Linked DNA regions of Homo sapiens: regions 1 and 2 are each linked to region 3. Evidence: promoter capture Hi-C in 16 types of primary human blood cells and fetal thymus (Javierre and others, 2016). All regions are on one chromosome and are shown on one strand. The core of a region is centred on a gene start or on the middle of the fragment in contact, and the rest is flanking DNA. Distances in the headings are between cores, read along the strand shown.

What was found. Contacts are between HindIII fragments. The CHiCAGO score rates a contact against its expected background, and 5 or more counts as called.
Region 1: a contact is called between the fragment with the promoter of SPTLC2 here and a fragment that was not itself captured in region 3, in 4 of 17 cell types (non-activated CD4 T cells, total CD4 T cells, neutrophils and 1 more). The highest score is 7.0, in non-activated CD4 T cells.
Region 2: the fragment with the promoter of VIPAS39 here is called in contact with a fragment that was not itself captured in region 3 in 1 of 17 cell types (non-activated CD4 T cells); the score reaches 6.7 in non-activated CD4 T cells.

Annotation. Positions count from the first base shown.
Region 1 is chr14:77,615,191-77,617,890 of GRCh38, forward strand. SPTLC2 (serine palmitoyltransferase long chain base subunit 2) reads right to left here and starts at 1,447. Exons shown (of 12, transcript NM_004863.4): 1 at 1,258-1,447. The coding sequence starts at 1,389. RefSeq lists enhancers at 704-913, 1,242-1,774 and silencers at 1,094-1,293, 1,434-1,483, 1,814-1,873. The HindIII fragment of the contact is 6,254 bases long and covers 1-2,700 here.
Region 2 is chr14:77,456,325-77,459,024 of GRCh38, forward strand. VIPAS39 (VPS33B interacting protein, apical-basolateral polarity regulator, spe-39 homolog) reads right to left here and starts at 1,277. Exons shown (of 20, transcript NM_001193315.2): 1 at 1,171-1,277. AHSA1 (activator of HSP90 ATPase activity 1) reads left to right here and starts at 1,769. Exons shown (of 9, transcript NM_012111.3): 1 at 1,769-1,945. The coding sequence starts at 1,866. RefSeq lists enhancers at 1,075-1,597, 1,216-1,675, 1,598-2,120, 1,846-2,025. The HindIII fragment of the contact is 4,049 bases long and covers 1-2,700 here.
Region 3 is chr14:76,152,447-76,155,146 of GRCh38, forward strand. GPATCH2L (G-patch domain containing 2 like) reads left to right here. Exons shown (of 10, transcript NM_017926.4): 2 at 1,908-2,579. The coding sequence starts at 1,918. Among named protein-coding and RNA genes, the nearest start is that of GPATCH2L, 1.9 kb to the left of the region's middle. The HindIII fragment of the contact is 1,370 bases long and covers 606-1,975 here.

The sequences.
Region 1 (2,700 bases), core at 197-2,696, 1.5 Mb after region 3:
TAAAAGTGAAAACAAATCTTTTGATCTGTGTATTACTTCGCTTTGACACCTTACAACTTCAGGGGAGGTCAAGTCTGCTTTACTTATTTTTCCCCTCAACTCAGTCTCAATATCTCAACATGACCTGGAAAAATGCTTTATTTTCTGCTTCGCAGCAAACAGTAACAGACCTATCCATCATAACTACTCATCTGGGGAGTAGTTATGTTAAAGCCAAATTAAGATCACCATCCTATCAAACTGCAACAGTCACACTCCCGCTAAAGGGAAACAGAGTACTTTCTAAGCGTTCCTTAATATCTGTACAAGACTTAAACGTATTAAAGTCAACTGCAAAATTATCGCAACACTCTCTTCCAGGAACACCGATCTTGCATCTTTTTAACCAGCTCATCTTTAAAAACACATTTCAACAGAATATCTGTCAGTCCAGACCACTGTAAGGTTGATAATAAGCATTGTCTTGAATTTAGAACTTTTCAAAATATTTTAGAACTGCCTGAACTTGGTTGATGATTCAGCATGGTTAATTAGTATAGAGTCATCGCAAGTCACCACCAGGCTAAACAATCCCCTTGTGTGATAGCACTCGTGTTCAGGAAAGGGTCGAAGGGGCCACCTAATCCAACCTGGAGCCTGGGGTAGAGTCTCACCACCGGCAGAGTTAAGAGAATGATGCTTTCGAGGGACCAGCTTGGATTCCCTGCCAGATCTATGGACCAATGTCCTGGTTGGGGACTGAACGTGGTAGTCCAGAATGTGGTTGGGAGAGGCTGGGTGTGTTTCCATCTGACACCACCGCCTAATTTTCTTTGCTTCTTAAGGACCCCATGGGTGGTTTTCTTTGGACGACTGCAGGACTTTAAAAGGAAGCAATAACCTCAGGGGTTTGAGAAGGGACCCTCCGGAGCCCTTGGGCGGCTCCCACTGGAGTCCGAAGGGCCCCTCATCGCTTCCCCTGGGGACAGCACACACTTCTGGCAGAATGGGGCAGAGAAAAGTACCCGGAGCTCTGAGCAGAACCCAGAGCTCCGGGAGTAAGACCTCCAGGCGCGGAGAGGTGGGGAGCCCCCGAGCCGTCCTTGAGCCTCCAGGCTCGTGGAGGTCGGGCCAGCGGCCGGACACTGCCGCCCACACCTGCGAACGGCGCCCGCCCCGCGGATTGCCCAGCGGATGGCCCGGAGACCTCGCCCCGCCCGGCCGCCCCTCCGCCAGTCCACACCGCCACCCCGGCCCCGCCGCGCGGGCCCCTCGTACCTGGCCGGCGGCGGCTGCGGCTGCGGCTGCAGCGCTGCTCCTCACGTACCCGTTCCGTACTTCCCCGTTCGCCACGCAGCCATTCGCCCGCACCGTGCGGCGGCAGCAGCAGCCTCCGGGCTCCGGCCGCATCTTCCTGGCAGCACCAGGCGCAAGGCAGGCTCTGTAGGCGGTGGCAGCGGCGGCGGCTGCTCCAAGTCCCGCTCCGCACCCCACCCACCTCCCCGAAACCGGAAATGGCTGCAGCGCCGCCGCCAATTCCCGGGCGGGCCTTCACAGAGGGCGGGGCCCTCTCCGCAGAGGACCGGTCTCGGCCAAGGCCACGCAGCGAAGGGAAAAAGCGGCGGGGACCTGCCGAGAGGGATGTGGTCCTGAGGACCGCTGACCAATCTGGAAGAGAAGGAGGCGGACCCCATGCTGCTGCCTGGCCAATCACGGACGAGAGCAAAGCGCCTCGCCGGTGGAGAGGGGGCTTCTCTAGAGGGACTCCAGGGCCTGGCACCTGATTGGAGGCCGCATCCAGGTCCGGGGTAGGGCTTGCCTGTTTAATGGTCCAGACCGAGGAGGAGGCGGAGCCCAGGGAAAAGTAGCCAATTAGAGTGTGAGGAAATAAAAGGGGCTGAGCCGAAGTCTCTAGAGCGGGTTCCCAGGTTCTCCAGGACAGGTGGCGCCCTCTTTGCCCTTGCCTCGTGGGAAGTTTTGGAGTTTATGTCCTAGCCCAAGACAGGCAGCTCGCTTATTTAATTAGCTGATTCCTCTGTGAGTGTTTATAGAATAGATTTTTTGACAATCTCTCATCATTCTTCAATATGCGCCACACATTCACTATTTCTGAATTATTATAAGTAATAATTCAGATGCCTTTTCACGTGCCCTTCACATTTGCCCTTGGCAGGGTTTTCTATACAGTCTCCTTTAAATTAAGTCTTTCCTTCAAAGTTAGAAAACCTGGTCTAATTCCAACTCTGCCAATAACTGGAAGCTAAAACTTGAGCACTGTGTTTAACCACTTTAGAAGCCAAATTCTTTAAAATGGAGTTAATACTTCCTGCTTCATAGACTTACAGCAAGAATTATATCATTAACCCATTATGCACCTCTTATAATACTAGGCTTATAGTAGGAGTATAATAAATATTATTTTCTCACCCTTTTAGTTCCATCTTCCCATGGGGTTAGAAAGCAAGGAAATTGATCTACATTACAATTAGAGACTTTCTGTTATCCATAAAGAATTTAGTATCATAATTGAGAGTATGGACTCTGGAGTCGGTCTGGGTTTTAAATCCTAGCTGCGCCACTTACTAGCTGAGTGACCTCTATGTGTCTTCATCTGTTCAGTGGGGACAATAATAGTTGTCGTGAAGATTGAATAAGTTTATGTATGTAATGTATTTTGTACAGGACCTAGCAATTAGTAAGCATTCATTAAGTGTTGGTTAC
Region 2 (2,700 bases), core at 27-2,526, 1.3 Mb after region 3:
AGAAAATATTTTTTAGCAATCCTAAAGATTAAAAAAAATACAAAAATTCTGAGTAGCCACAAATGCTGAAGATGTGTATAGAACATATAAATGTCTCTGGCACACATGTCAGTTCATAAATCACTCTGTCATTCGTTTGATCCTCAGAACAATCTTGTAAGGTAGGCCTGGGAGATTCCATTTCCATGTTACTCATGGGGAAAGTGAGGCACAAAAGAGTTCAGTATCAAAGCCACTTTGTTAAATGCTCCTATTTCAAATTACAATCCAGGCTTTCTGGCTCCTAGACCATTTCTAGTGTCTTGCATGGTCCTTCTACCTATTTTTCACTTTCCAGAAAACTAGAGATCATTCCTTCACTATAGTAATTATCTACAGATAGACATAGAATGTGTCTAACAAACACAATAATCTACCAGAGGATTTCTGGAATCTTTTTAACCATGCAATGGCAGTAGACAACTGCCATCAATTTGTATTTATAACGCCAAATGAGAAGCTAGGTTTACTTGGCAAGTATAGATAATGATCTAGTGGCTCTAGAGTTATAAAGTAATCAGGTACGATTGTCACTCTTAAGAGTGACAGGTGCTTCAACATGATTTAAAATACTTCAGAGGTTTGTCTTTATCGTCTCTTGTTTACTGACAGCCCACAAGGCAGGGTGAGAGACCTCAGGGGAGAACAGGAACTTTACAAAGGAAAACAGAAGAATCAGCAAGAAAACCACAACATGCTCCCTGCCTCAGAAAACTCCAAAAACCACCTACTGAGAAGTCAGACTTGGTTTCAATTATCTTCCGAGCCAGGAAGATACAGGTGAGGCTTGTGAACTGAGACCAGGGAACAAGAGTTAAGCTAGGATGACTCTACGGGTGAACGTCCAGGAAGCCATGGATCTACCGCAGTCGTCAGAGCCCAGCGGATCCCTGGCAGAGTTAAATGCTCGTTCTGAACCAAATGTCCGCTTCCGAACCAATCGCTGGTGCTCACTCGCAGCCCCAGTCCCAAGCGTACTCCAGCGCCCAAGGGTCGCCCTGACTGAAAGAAGAGAATCAGGCCTGTAGTCATAGGGTGTAGGGATGCCTCCTAGAAGAGGGGAAAAGATCAAGATGCGGAGAGGCTGGATCCAGCCAGATACGCGACCCAAGGGGCTTGGGACACCCTCACCTCTTCCGCACAGAGCCCTCCCTCTCAGGACAGCGCCAGCCTCCGCCGCCGCTGGACCAGCCCTTCTATTCAGGCTGTGCAGCTTAGAGAAGGGGGCGGAAGGGAATAATCGTAGGGCGGAGAGAAAACACGAATAACGAGACCGCAGGGCATGCTGGAAGTCGTAGTTTCTTCTGCCTCTGCTGTCAGGCGCTGTCCCGACGAACCACAAGGCTTCTTGACTACAGCCCCCAGAAACCCCAAGCACCGTGCTAGGTCATTTCCTCTCCTTTCCGCGAGACCTTCCGCGGTTATCCAGCGAGTCACGTAGCAAGACTACAATTCCCATGAGGCTCAGCAAGGGCGATTTAGGGTCCAGGGAAGCAATGAGACGTGTTCTTTGTTTTCCTATGGGTGAGGAATGGTTGTATGAGCAGTTGGGTTTCGGGACGCTTTTTGGGGAGAACCCGATGGAGTCTGAAGGATCTCTAAATCAGGCGGAACCCACGGTGCGGCGAGTTGGGACGGAAGTAACCGGTGGGAGTGGGGAGGAGCCGGAAGTTAAGGAGGGGAGGGGGTGGAGGGAAAAGCAAGCCAGGAGGTGCTTGCGGCCGCTTCTAGTAGTTTCCAGGCGCTGCCGGGCGGCTGGCACTAAGCGGTCCTGAGGCTGTGGCTACGGCTGCTCCGGAGCTGGTGGCGCCGCGATAGGAGAGCCGATGGCCAAGTGGGGTGAGGGAGACCCACGCTGGATCGTGGAGGAGCGGGCGGACGCCACCAACGTCAACAACTGGCACTGGTGAGGGCCAGAAAAGCAGGCCGGCCTTGGGAGACCTGCGGCCGGGCCAGGGTTTCAGGGTTCCTAGAACCTCGGCCCGGACAGAGCTGGGGCTGAGGTAGCCCTGTCCGGAGATGGGGGTGGGTCCTTCCTGTGGCAGGGGTCCGTAGCCCCAGGCCTCTCCACTCCGCGGTCACCTTCTCAGTGTTTGAGGGGAGGGAGATGGACGTGGAGGGCTGCGCCCCAGAGGAGGGTTGTCAGAGAGACTAGGAGATAACGCCCTGGCTGCTGCATCCAGCCCGAGCAGGGAGGTGCTTATTACACGTGGCCAGAGGAGTCACTGAGACTGGAACCTCCTTTGATTGTGTTGGGAGATAGCTGTGAAAGGCCTAAGGCCAGGGGTCTGTAATTCCTATTTTGCGGCCTGCGGTAAAATTAAAAGTCATTCATAGGGGACCGCTGCAGCGGTCCCGCGGGAGATTGAGAACGTGTTGTGCAGGTGCTCAGAGCTCAGATAGCTGCGGCCTCTCACCCGGAACTATCAGGTCGGGTGTGTTGGAACTCCAGGTTGCCGAGCAGCCGTGGTTTTATAACCTGACCGTTCTTAAAATAACTGCCCTCCTTCATGAAATCTTCCCAAAGTAATATTAGTTTCCTTATTTTTGAATTCCACTGAACTTTTTTCGTAATGTTTGTATTGTACCGTTACTTTGTTGCAGCCTTTTTTGCTGTTGTTTTCTCTAATAGTTGATAAGTAGGAAGGCAGATAGTGATGT
Region 3 (2,700 bases), core at 41-2,540:
TGAGCAGTTGCCTCCTGCCTCTCCCACCTCCTACTCCGCCCCTCACTTCCACCCTGCTCCTGTCTCTCTTCTTACTTGCTGTCCACCAGCTACCCGTTCCTTCCTGTGCGTGACTCAGCCTCATCTCTGCCCGGGTGCGTGCCTGGCCGCCGGGTCCTCTCGAGAGTGTGCATCCGCGACTGGAGATGGGGAGTTCTAGGGTTCTTTTGTCACTACTGTTGGAATTACAGGCTTTGAGGCAGGAAAGGATTCTGCACAGGCATTCGACTGCAAGTTGTTTGATGACTTCGTTCCATGTTCAAGTTTGTGCTGTTCTGCCTGAGGTTTTTATTTGTTCTTTTGTTTTTGTTTTTTGTATTTTTGTTGCCTGAGTTTTTAAAGCAGTAATTCTTTATTAGGGAAGTAGATTTTGACATGCTGTTCCCACTTGTTTCTTTATTTTGGTCTTAGGGACAGTTGTCTCCCAAACCTCAATCATGGCATTTTAATCCACTTTTTTTTTTCCCATTTTTTCCCCTTCTTTTCACAGGTGTTGATAAACCACTTCTTAATGCTTAAAAGAACTTGGTCTTGTTTAAATGTATGTGCTTTTGGACACTTTGAGAAGCTTCGTTTGTATGGTAGTTTTGGAAGTAGGTGTCACTATTGCTCCTACAGGTGTGGCAGATAAGCCAGAGGACTGTTTTCCTGTCTTTAAGTTCATTGGCATAGGCACAGCATGAAAATAGGTTTTAGAAAGCCCTTTGCAAAGTGAAAACTGAATGAATGGGAATATGGTCAGAGAGTGGCACCACTTAGAATTTTAAGCTGATCTTGAAATACTTTGGGCATAGAGGCAAGAGAAAAGTGCTAAAAATTTAATATGTATTTAATTAGATGCTGTACAAATTAAATATTTCCCCTTAAGGGGGAATTTTGAAGATTGCTCCTACTACTGTCATTTCTTGAAATGTTTGTCTCTGAAGTGACCCCTGAAGTGTGATGTTTGGTTTGAGGATGAACAGAAAAATAAGAAATTTTGGAAAGCAGTTTGGCCAGAAATCTTAGAAACTTCACCCTATCCCTGTCATTTCAGCTGCTATTGTATCCTAGTTTTCTGTGATTGTGTGGCACTGAAGCACATAACTAGGACCAACATTTATTTTCTGGAGGGTAGGAGAGGGGCTTAAAAATTGTTAATTATTCAAAAATATATGACATACTGTATAAGGTTCTATACCTGGTAGCTTCCAGGTGGTAGTTGGTACCAGAATGGGCGCAAACTTAGTCTCTTCTCCATTCTGACTTCAAACCTGGGTCACTACAATTTCTTGGATCACGAAAACTGCATTCTTCCTTAAATGGTGTCACTAAGTTGTCTTTCTGTTTCTTTCTGCCATGGTCATTGTCAGCAGTGACCCCAGGCCAAAGAACAGTTTTTCATTCATTCTCAATACCTCGATGAGACCATGTGCTACTCTGTGTTTCCACAACTCTAGTGTGATTTTGAAGTTGTATGTTTTTCTGTTCCTGTCTAGTGAGACAGTCTCTAATCTTTCTGGATCTCATCATTAGGTAATTCAATGACAAGTTTAATTGGGGAAAAGAGAGAAGGATCTAGTCCCCCGAATTTGTTTTGGGTCCTGTCCCAGTTGTCTTCTGGTTAGTAGGTTTTTGTGCTTAAGAATATGTTGACTTCAGGCATTTAACAAGGGACAAAACATCTATTTTTAGTGACTTAAGGAAGTGGTAGGAACAGAATCTAAGTGTAGCCAGATGAAAGGTGACTTATTTTGTTTAGACAGGCAGAACTGTGGACTACCATGATCTGTTTCATCAAATTATTCCAAAACAACAGATCCTTTTTCAGGCTTTCTTTTTCTTTTTCTTTTCTTTCTTTCTTTTTTTCCTAAACTTCCTTTTGGCAGATGTGGCCTCATGGATGAGCTGGTACACGACTTAGCCTCAGCCTTGGAGCAGACATCTGAGCAGAATAAGCTTGGTGAACTGTGGGAGGAGATGGCGCTGAGCCCCCGACAGCAGAGGCGGCAGCTTCGGAAACGCCGAGGTCGGAAGCGTCGTTCTGACTTCACTCACCTGGCAGAGCATACCTGCTGCTACAGCGAGGCCTCTGAGTCAAGTCTGGATGAGGCCACTAAGGACTGTCGAGAAGTGGCTCCGGTGACCAATTTTAGTGACTCTGATGACACAATGGTAGCCAAACGACACCCAGCTCTCAATGCCATTGTCAAGAGTAAGCAACATTCTTGGCATGAATCTGACTCCTTTACTGAAAATGCACCTTGTCGACCACTCAGGCGCAGGCGGAAGGTGAAGCGAGTGACATCAGAGGTGGCTGCTAGCCTTCAGCAGAAGCTGAAGGTGTCAGATTGGAGCTATGAGAGAGGCTGCAGGTTCAAGTCTGCTAAGAAGCAGCGTCTGTCCCGCTGGAAGGAGAATACTCCCTGGACCTCATCAGGCCACGGATTGTGTGAATCAGCAGAAAATAGGACTTTCCTAAGCAAAACAGGAAGGAAAGAAAGGATGGAGTGTGAAACAGATGAACAAAAACAGGGCTCTGATGAGAACATGTCAGAATGGTGAGATCTCCCTTACTAAGTCAAAGATTTTCCTGGTTAATTTTTCCCAAAGTGCACATCCATGGTCTTAGTGGGTTCTACCTTCTTTCAAACCAGCCACTCTAGTATTGACTTTGAAGCC